3 separate regions of the Homo sapiens genome follow, and regions 2 and 3 are each linked to region 1. The links are contacts of gene promoters, found by promoter capture Hi-C in blood cells and fetal thymus (Javierre and others, 2016). All regions are on one chromosome and are shown on one strand. Each heading gives the region's core, a stretch centred on a gene start or on the middle of the fragment in contact. The rest is flanking DNA. Distances are from core to core; before and after follow the strand shown. Region 1 holds the start of BTBD2 (BTB domain containing 2). Region 2 overlaps DOT1L (DOT1 like histone lysine methyltransferase). Region 3 overlaps DOT1L (DOT1 like histone lysine methyltransferase).

Region 1 (3,040 bases), core at 338-2,837:
GATCTTGCTCTGTTGCCCAGGCTGGAGGGCAGTGGTGGAGTCATAGCTCATCAAAAGCTCAACCTTCCAGGCTCAAGTGATGCTTCCGTCTCAGCCTTCTGAGTAGCTGGGACAACAGGTGCGTACCACCACGCCTAGTTTTTTTTTTGTTTTGTTTTGTTTGTTTGTTTGTTTGTTTGAGACGGAGTTTTGTTCTTGTTGTTCAGGCTGGAGTGCAATGGCGCGGTCTCGGCTCACTGCAACCTCCGCCTCCCAGGTTCAAGTGATTCTCCTGCCTCAGCCTCCCGAGTAGCTGGGATTACAGGCACCCGCCACCAAGCCTGGCTAATTTTCGTATTTTTAGTAGAGATGGGGTTTCACCATGATGGGGTTTCACCAGGATGGTCTCGATCTCCCGACCTGGTGATCCGCCCGCCTCGGCCTCCCAAAGTGCTGGGATTACAGACGTGAGCCACCGCGCCTGGCTAATTTTTGTATTTTTTGTAGAGACAGGGTTTTGCCATGTTGCCCAGGCTGGTCTCCAACTCTTGACCTTAGGTGATGCACCCCCCGCCTTGGCCTCCTGAAGTGCTGGGATTACAGGCGTGAGCCACTGCGCCCGACCTGGTTCCTCAATCTTTGTGGCATTTGTCTACCTTGACATTATGTATGTAGTAAGCGTTTTGGGGGAGTCCCAGCTCCGTCCACACTGACCACCCCCCACACCTGGCCTGGAGAGGGTGCTGGGCGTCTGCTGAGTGTCAGTGCACGTGGCCTGCATCCTGCTCGCTCATCCGCAGCTTCCCGGCCTCAGGCTATGTCTCTGTACAGCGGAGCCTGCGCCACGGAGCAGGCCCGCCACCTGGGTCCGGGGTCTGGGGTCTGGAGTTTGCGCTTGGTCTTTGGGTTGGGGGTTCCGGGTCTGAGGTATGGGATCTGGAATCCGGAGTCTGAAGTCTGGGGTTCAGAGTCTGGGATCTAGGATTCAAGGTCTGAGGCCTGGGATCCCGGACTGAGGTCTGTGCTCCAGGGTTTAGGATTCCCGGTCTGGAGTCTGGGGCCTGGTGCCTGGACCCCAAATTCTGGACCTCGGTCTGGAGTCTGGGCTTCAGGTCAGGATGCTTAGGGAGTGGAGCAAGAGGTCTTCCACCAGCTCCTCCCCTCTACAGGCCCCTCCTACTCTTCCCTCTCCTCCCCGTCCCCTCCCCTGCAACAGCCTCCCCCATTCACCTCCCTTCTCCCCTCCCTCCTCCCCTCCCACCTCCCCTCCTTTCCCCTCCCTCTCCTCCCCTCCCTCCTTCCCCCTCCTTTCCCCTCCCTCTCCTCCCCTCCCTCCTTCCCCCTCCTTTCCCCTCCCTCTCCTCCCCTCCCTCCTTCCCCCTCCTTTCCCCTCCCTCTCCTCCCCTCCCTCCTTCCCCCTCCTTTCCCCTCCCTCTCCTCCCCTCCCTCCTTCCCGCTTCCCCTCCCCTCCCTCCTCCCCTCCTTTCCCCTCCCTCCTCTTTTCCCCTCCCCTCCCTCCTCCCCCTCCTCCCCCTACTCTCCTCCTTTCCCCTCCCTCCTTCCCTCCTCCCCTCCCTCCTTCCCTCCTCCCCTCCCCCGCCCACGCCGCAGCCACAAAATGGCGGCGGGTGGGAGCGGCGGGCGTGCGTCGTGCCCGCCGGGGGTCGGGGTCGGCCCGGGCACGGGGGGCAGTCCCGGGCCCAGCGCCAACGCCGCCGCCACCCCGGCCCCCGGCAACGCGGCCGCCGCCGCCGCCGCCGCCGCCGCCGCCGCCGCCGCCCCTGGGCCGACGCCGCCCGCCCCGCCGGGCCCCGGGACAGACGCGCAGGCCGCGGGCGCGGAGCGGGCGGAGGAGGCGGCGGGCCCGGGGGCGGCGGCGCTGCAGCGCGAGGCCGCGTACAACTGGCAGGCCAGCAAGCCCACCGTGCAGGAGCGCTTCGCCTTCCTCTTCAACAACGAGGTGCTGTGCGACGTGCACTTCCTGGTGGGCAAGGGGCTCAGCTCGCAGCGCATCCCCGCGCACAGGTGGGCGCCCCGACCCCGCCAGCCCTGGCCCCGACCCACCCAGCCTGCTGCCCGGGCCCTGCACCTGAGGCCCTGCACCCCTCTGTCCCCGAGACCCCCGCACCCCTCCATCCCCGAGCCCTGCACCCCTCTGTCCCCGGGACCCCTGCACCCCTGCATCCTCAGGCTCCGAACCCAACTCGGCCTGCACCCCGGGGCCTGCACCTGAGGCCCTGCACCCCTCTGTCCCTGGGACCCCTGCACCCCTCCGGTCCTGAAACCGACCCGGCCTGCACCCCGGGGCCTGCACCCTTCCATCCCTAGACTCCACCCAGTTCCCTGGGCTCTGCACCCCTCTGTCCCTGCCTCTGCACCTCTCTGTCCCCAGACCCCACCAGGCCTGCACTCTGGGCCTCTGCACCCCTCCATCCCCAGGCCCCCCTGGATCCTCCACCTCTGGCTTGCGCCCCCAGCCTGTTCCCCGGGATCCCAGGCCCTGTACCCCTGGGACCCCTGCTCTCCTCCGTCCCTGGACCCACCCAGCCTGCACTCCGGTACCCTCCGTTCCTGGGACCCTCCAACTCGGCCTGCACTTGGAGCCCCTGGGCCCCTCCATCCTCAAACCCCACCCAGCCCGCACCCCAGAACCCTGAATACCCCATCCTCAGGGCCCTCCACCCCCCGCCTGCACCCTAGGACCCTCCATTCTTCCATCCCCAGGACGCTCCATCCCTGGACCTCACCCCTCCCTGCACCCCAGGTCCCCAGACACCTCTGCCCCCAGATCCCTGGGCCCCTCCACCTCCGGCTGGAACCCCTGCCTACACCCCAGGCCCCTCCATCCCTGGACCCCACCTGGCCTGCATCCCTGGGTCCCCTCCATGCCCTGGCCCTGCACCCCCACCCACCACCCCTGGGACTCCTGTGACCCTCCAACCCTGGGACGTGTACCCCTATCTGCTCCTCCATTCCCAGGACCCCAACCCACTGTTTCTAGGACCCATGACCCCACATGCCACACCCCTCCATCCCTATACCCGGGGATCCTCAGGACCCC
Region 2 (3,040 bases), core at 541-3,040, 210 kb before region 1:
ACTGTCCTGGCAGGGACTCCAGGGCCTCTGCTGGGACAAGCAGCCAAGAGATCAGGCACAGCAGCTGAATGGGAGAAGCAATTTCCCAGCACACAGAAGTGTGAGAATCCCAGACAGAGCTCTCTTCCTACCTCCCTCTCCCGGCCCCTCTCAGACCTCGGTGCCTCAGGTGGCAAACAATGCCACAGCATTGCAGGCCAGCACGTGAAGACATGCCCAACCACACACTGCATGGGGTCGCTTTGATCCAATGTCCCAAGAACACACCAGGGACACACAAATTCCTAAAGATCCTGGAAACCACTAAGCTGAGCAATCCCAATGCAAAACAGAGCATCCAGGTGCTACAATGTTTCTCGTGTAACACGTGCACGCACACGTGGGCAAGGAGCAGAACGAACTAACACAGAACACCACCAAAAGCACACTTAGGGCCGGCTGTGATGGCGCACGCTGGGAGGCACTGGGAGGCAGAAGGCTTGAGGCCAGGAGTTTGAGACCAGCCTGGGCAACATGGCAAAACCCGATCTCTATAAAACAAAAAAACGAACGAGGCACGGTGGTAGCGTGTGCCTGTAGACACAACTACTCAGGAGGCTGAGGCAGGAGAATCACTTGAACCCAGGAGGCGGAGGGTCAGTGAGCCGAGATCGCGCCACCGCACTCCAGCCTGGGCCACAGACCAAAACTCTGTGTCTCAGGAAAAAAAAAAAAAAAAAAGCAAAAAACCCTACCATGTTATATCACTTCACGACGACTCGGATGGCTAGAATCAAAACAAGAAATTCAGTGTGTTGAGGATGTGGGGACTGAGGACCTCAGACCCTCGTGCACCCATGGTGGCAGGGTGGAATGGTGTGGCTGCTGGAGAGCCCAGGGGGCCGGGCCACCCAGCACCTCCGCCCAGGCACCAGGAAACGGGAAACTTGCTCCCAAACACAAACACGCACACCCATGGCCACAGCAGTGCTGCTCACAACCGCCCAGGGTAAGCAAGCCTAGCACGGAGGGCGGATGGATGGTGGAGCACCACCCAGCCACGACAGGGACCGAGGATGCACCTTGAGGACGTCACGCTCAGTGAGAGATGCCAGACACAAAAGGCCACATCCTGTGTGACTCCGCTCCTAGGAGGTCCCTAGAGCCCTCAGATTCAGAGACAGAAAGTAGGATGGGGGCGGGGGGTGCCAGGGGCTCTTGGGAGGAGAAGGGGAGTGAGTGTTTCAAGGGGATGATGAGATTTTCTCAGGACATGATGGAAGGTTCTGGATTTAGGCAGTGGTAATGTGGATATACCAAAGACCTCTGAATTGCACACTTTAAATGGAGAATACGATATGTGAATTTTATCTAATAAAGCTACTGTAATACACTCGGCAAGACGTGTGGATGAGACCTCCAACGCCTCACTGCTGAAGCTTCTCTCCTGCTGCGCTCAGCTCCTCCTCAGCTTGCCTCTTCTAACCGATGGCCCTGCTCGTGTCCCACCCCGAATGGCCCGGGAGGCCGGCCCTGCCCGGAACGGGGCCCAGGACCTGTGGGGAGGCCCCTCACAAAACAGACGCCTTCCTCCCATCCAGGGCACCCCCTAAGAGCCTGCCGGTCCTCCCCACCCACCCACCCACACACACACAGTGAGCAGGCACCTCCTGCCCCTGCTGCCAGGCCCCGCCCCCCTCCGGGCCCCTGGACTCGCCGAGCACTGCTGGGCTCGTCCTCAGAGCCTGGCTCCTCGTCTGAGGTGAGTGGGGAGTAGTGTGCCCCATTGGTCTGGCTCAGAGGCCGCTCCTTCTTGAGCACGGGGGGCTGGTCGTGGTCCTGGTAGGGCACAGGGGAGCTCTTCAGGGAGGTCTCCGGGGACGAGATGGCTGTAATCTCCAGGGGCTGGTTGATGTTACTGACCTGAGGGCAGACAGACACAATGGATGCACATACCACAGACCCGGGACCCCAAGGCAGGAGAGCCCCCCCGCCCCAGGAGGCTCCTGTCTGCACCCCAGGGTCTCCTGAGGAAACTGATGCCCTGCCCAGCGGCCAGTACAGCCCCTGTCCTGGTTCTTCCTGGTCCTCACACACCACCCCGCAATCCCAGAGCCCCCCATGCCCCCTCCTGATGTGCCCACCACCACTAAGGCCCCACAGCCGAGAATGAAGAAGCTTGCAGGCAGCGCATCGCACTCCGAACCCCAGAGACAGCTGTCGGCCGCCTCTTCCCAGGCTGCCAGGCCGCACGTGGTGGAGGATGGCCGGGCTCAGTCATGGCCCCCTGCCTCCACCTGTTTTTTTTTGTGTTTTTTTTTGTCCCCCCGAGAGGGAGTCTCGCTCTGTGGCCCAGGCAGTGGCCGATCTCAGTTCACTGCAAGCCCCGCCTCCCGGGTTCACATCATTCTCCTGCCTCAGCCTCCCAGGCACCCGCCACCACGCCCGGCTAATCTTTTGTATTTTTGGTAGAGACGGGGTTTCACCGTGTTAGCCAGGATGGTCTTGATGTCCTGATCTTGTGATCCACCCGCCTCGGCCTCCCAAAATGCTGGGATTACAGGCGTGAGCCACCGCGCCCGGTCTCCCTCTGGTCTTTCTTTCACAGGCCGCGCTCCCCAGCCCTGCCGGTCCCCATCCTTACCATGGAGTTGAGGTTGAGGGGAGACCCCGAAGGCTGTGTGAAAAGGCCAGCGACGGACGGCAGGGCTCGGCGCTTGGGGGACACGCCTGCGCTCAAGCTGGGCGTCCCCGCAGATGCTCGCTTCCGCCGGCCGCGCCTGCGACTGTCCTGCCCGTGGCTCGGCACACAGTCCCCACGGGCGCTGGCGGTCAGGGGGCTGTGCTTGCTGGAGGGCGACTGCTTGGCACTGCCCGCACCAGTGGTGATGGTGAACACAATCCTCCTCTTGGCTTCACTCTCAGGATCTGAGAAGCCGGAATCGGAGGGCAGGTCTCCCTTGCTGGCCTCGGGCAACGGGCCCTGGGCGGCCCCACCAAGCCGGGGACTGGAGGAGAGCTGGTGGGCGGGAGAGGCAGGAAGCGAGTTCCGGGGCTGTGC
Region 3 (3,040 bases), core at 159-2,658, 180 kb before region 1:
GCTCAAGCGATCCTCCCACCTCAGCCTTCCAAAGCATTGGGATTACAGGCAGGAGCCAAAGAGCCCAGCCAGATATGCCCCATTTTTTTTTTTTTTTTTTTTGAGACGGAGTCTCACTCTGTCACCCAGGCCGGAGTGCCGTGATGCGATCTCGTCTCACCACAACCTCCGCCTTCAAAGTTCAAGCAATTCCCCTGCCTCAGCCTCCCAAGTAGCTGGGATTACAGGCGCGCGCCACCACACCCAACTGATTTTTGTACTTTTAGTAGAGGGAAAGTTTCACCATGTTGGCCAGGCTGGTCTCGAACTCCTGACCTCAGGAGCTCAGATCCGCCTGCTTTGGCCTCCCAAAGTGCTGGGATTACAGGCGTGAGCCACCACGTCCAGACGATACACATTCTTTTTATTGCATTTTTTAAATTTGAAAATAAATTTAAATAAATAAACAGAAGTGGGATCTTGCTATGCTGACCAGCCTGGTCTTGAACTCCTAGCCTCAAGTGACCCTCCCATCTCAGCCTTCCAAGTGCTAAGATGACAGGCGTGAGCTGCCACACCCAGTCTGTGCAAAGTCCTCTTGGTCCCTGCCCCTGGGGCCCCTTCCCCACGTCAAAGCCAGGACTGTGGAAAGGGGGCAGACGTGGGGCTCGCGTGCCTGCAGGCACAAGGTTCACATGTCCATCGAGGTCCAAGGAGCCCAGGGACAGCCTAGACACTGTGGAGAAGGGGCCTTCACTGTCTGACCCTTGGGTGGCCCCGTCAGCCCTGCAGCCTGGATGGGGTGGTCCTATCAAGAATTCGTCAGGCTACTGAGGCTGTTCGTGTACGGGCCGCTCATCTGTGCTTCAGCCAGGCCACGCTGCTGCTGAAGACACACCTAGGGCCTCGTTTCAAGGAGCCCCGCCCGTGGTTGAGAGGAGACGACACCTCACAAGCAGAGTCTGAGTGCAGGCAGAGGCTGAAAGAATGCCAGCAGGTGGGAGCCCCAACCTGGGAGGGGCAGGGCACGGCCCAGACGCAGGGGTGCCGAGGGAGACTGGGGATGCAGGGAGGGCGCGAGGGCCTCCGGGAGCCCAGGGACCTGGGGTCTTCCTCCGCGGGGGACCTTTCCAGCCGCTGTGGAGGGAGCAGGTGTGCCCAGGGAAGGACTGCGGCAGGCTGCAGCCGTGGGTGGGGCCCGGGCTGGGGCCCAGGCTAGCGAGTGGCAGCTTCTGGGAGCGAGCAGTAGAGGGTGCACAGGTCTAGCTCCCCAGCTGGTGGGAAGCAGGACGAAAGCAGAGTCTCCGGGCACCTGGGAGGATGGGCCTGGTCTGGGAGCCACTGGGTTCCTGCGATTTCTCCCCTCTGGGTGGAGCCCGGTCAGGGCTGGGGAAAGGAACGGCCCCACAGCGGGACAGAGGCGCTGGGAGAAGGAAGCACTGTCCACGCCAACGTCGCAAGTCCCTGATAAACTCTTCTCCAAGCAGGCATGGGGCAGGCACAGAGCGTGTGGCCTGGAAGTGCACAGGAGCCGGGCATGGCGGGCGACACTCACCGCTCCCCAAGTCCACAAACAGGTCGTCGTCGGTCATCTTGATCTCATCAATCATCTGGGCCACCAGGTCGAAGGAGGTCTCCCCGTACACCTCGGGGGAGAAGGGCTCGTAGTTGTTGAGCTTCTCGGGGTCGGTCACCGAGTGGTTGTAGACCTGCTGCAGGATATGGCGCAGGAGTCCAGTGGACGGCCGCGTGTTCAGCTTCATGGGCTGCGTGGTGCCCTTCCACTGCGGACGGAGGGTGGCCCGGCCATGTCACATAAACCTCACGGCCCAGCCCCTCCACCACCAAGACCCGGGACCTTTCCCAGCGGAAGCAGGGAGTCGGCTGCATGGCCTCTCGTCCCCCTGCAGGGTGGCTGCCGGGCTCCCAGGTCAGTTTCCAACCCAGCCCCATTTCCTACAAGCAGTAAAGCAGCATCCCCAGGGACAGGCCCCAACTCAGAGGGGTCCTAGGAGGCTCCACCTCCTGCCACGGGCCTCTCTCCCCACTGGCAAGACCACCAAAACCACACAGGCCACCAAGACCACCACCCCTCCTCTGGGCCAAGGCAGCAGGGTGGGGCGCTGACACCAAGGGACCCCCGTCAGGTGCCACGAGCCCCGTGAAAGCCCTGAGCCTACCACACCTCATCTGACTCGACTACGTGGGACCCCGCCTTCCTCCCCACCAGCTGCAGCAGGCTGAGGTGGTCCCCTCTCGCCCAGGCCAGCTCAGCTCTCAGGGGCCCACAGAGCTGCATGCATGAGGTTGAGGGGAAGCCAGAGCCGGGTGGCAGGCTGATGGGGCAGCCCAGCCCAGCCCAGTCCCACTCAGGAGGGCCAAGTGAGCCCATGCCACCCCCACCAGGGCTCCCTCCACAGCAAGACCTTCAAGAAAGAGCTCCCCTACCCCCATGCACCAGGGGCCCCCGGTGCTTTCTAGAACATGGGAAGCAGCACGTTCCCCTCCCTGCTACACCCCAGCTCACTGTGTGCCCCGTCCTCTGTGAGGAAAGCCTCACGAGACACAGCAGGACCGGGGTGCCCAAGGGTGCAGCCCAGGCCGGCATCCAGCCTGATGAAGGCAGGCGGTGTGGGGGAGGTCCAAGGGGGAAGGCCGGCATTCACACAGCCCGGGGAGGACAGGGACCCCGCCTCTGCTGGGACCTGCGGACACCAACCCAGGGCTGCAGAGGCGTGTGCAGACACCACAACCCTCAGGGCCCTGCCTCAGCACACAAACCACGGACGGCTCTGCTTTGGCACACGGCCACAGCACACAGCCCAGCCTCGGCAGCCCCCACACCACTCACCCACAGCCCATCGTCCCCCCACGCTGCACATTCCAATCCCCAGGGGCTCTAAGGGGAGCTCTGTGCCCCGAGGCGGTGACATAAGGGGTCTGGAGGGGTCCGGGAGCCTGGCACTACTAACCCCCTCTGGGCAGGGGCAAGCCACCTACCAGCTGGTGGATGCTGTCGATGGCACGGTTGTACTTGTCGCAGAGCCTCTGCATGCTCTCG

Evidence for each region. The method cuts DNA at HindIII sites, captures the fragments that hold promoters and counts their contacts. A CHiCAGO score of 5 or more calls a contact.
Region 2: a fragment that was not itself captured here is called in contact with the fragment with the promoter of BTBD2 in region 1 in 1 of 17 cell types (naive B cells); the score reaches 5.2 in naive B cells.
Region 3: a fragment that was not itself captured here is called in contact with the fragment with the promoter of BTBD2 in region 1 in 1 of 17 cell types (neutrophils); the score reaches 6.5 in neutrophils.

Annotation. Positions count from the first base shown.
Region 1 is chr19:2,014,261-2,017,300 of GRCh38, reverse strand. It overlaps BTBD2 (BTB domain containing 2), which reads left to right and starts at 1,587. Exons shown (of 9, transcript NM_017797.4): 1 at 1,587-2,004. The coding sequence starts at 1,598. It overlaps LOC107985278 (a long non-coding RNA gene), which reads left to right. Exons shown (of 4, transcript XR_001753845.2): 3 at 1-118; 4 at 207-956. RefSeq lists silencers at 1,781-1,930, 1,941-1,990. The HindIII fragment of the contact is 21,370 bases long and covers 1-3,040 here.
Region 2 is chr19:2,222,143-2,225,182 of GRCh38, reverse strand. DOT1L (DOT1 like histone lysine methyltransferase) reads right to left here. Exons shown (of 28, transcript NM_032482.3): 24 at 2,624-3,040; 25 at 1,697-1,902. Among named protein-coding and RNA genes, the nearest start is that of DOT1L-AS1, 8.1 kb to the right of the region's middle. RefSeq lists a silencer at 1,142-1,201. The HindIII fragment of the contact is 739 bases long and covers 1,421-2,159 here.
Region 3 is chr19:2,189,735-2,192,774 of GRCh38, reverse strand. DOT1L (DOT1 like histone lysine methyltransferase) reads right to left here. Exons shown (of 28, transcript NM_032482.3): 4 at 2,980-3,040; 5 at 1,535-1,763. Among named protein-coding and RNA genes, the nearest start is that of DOT1L-AS1, 24 kb to the left of the region's middle. The HindIII fragment of the contact is 8,550 bases long and covers 1-3,040 here.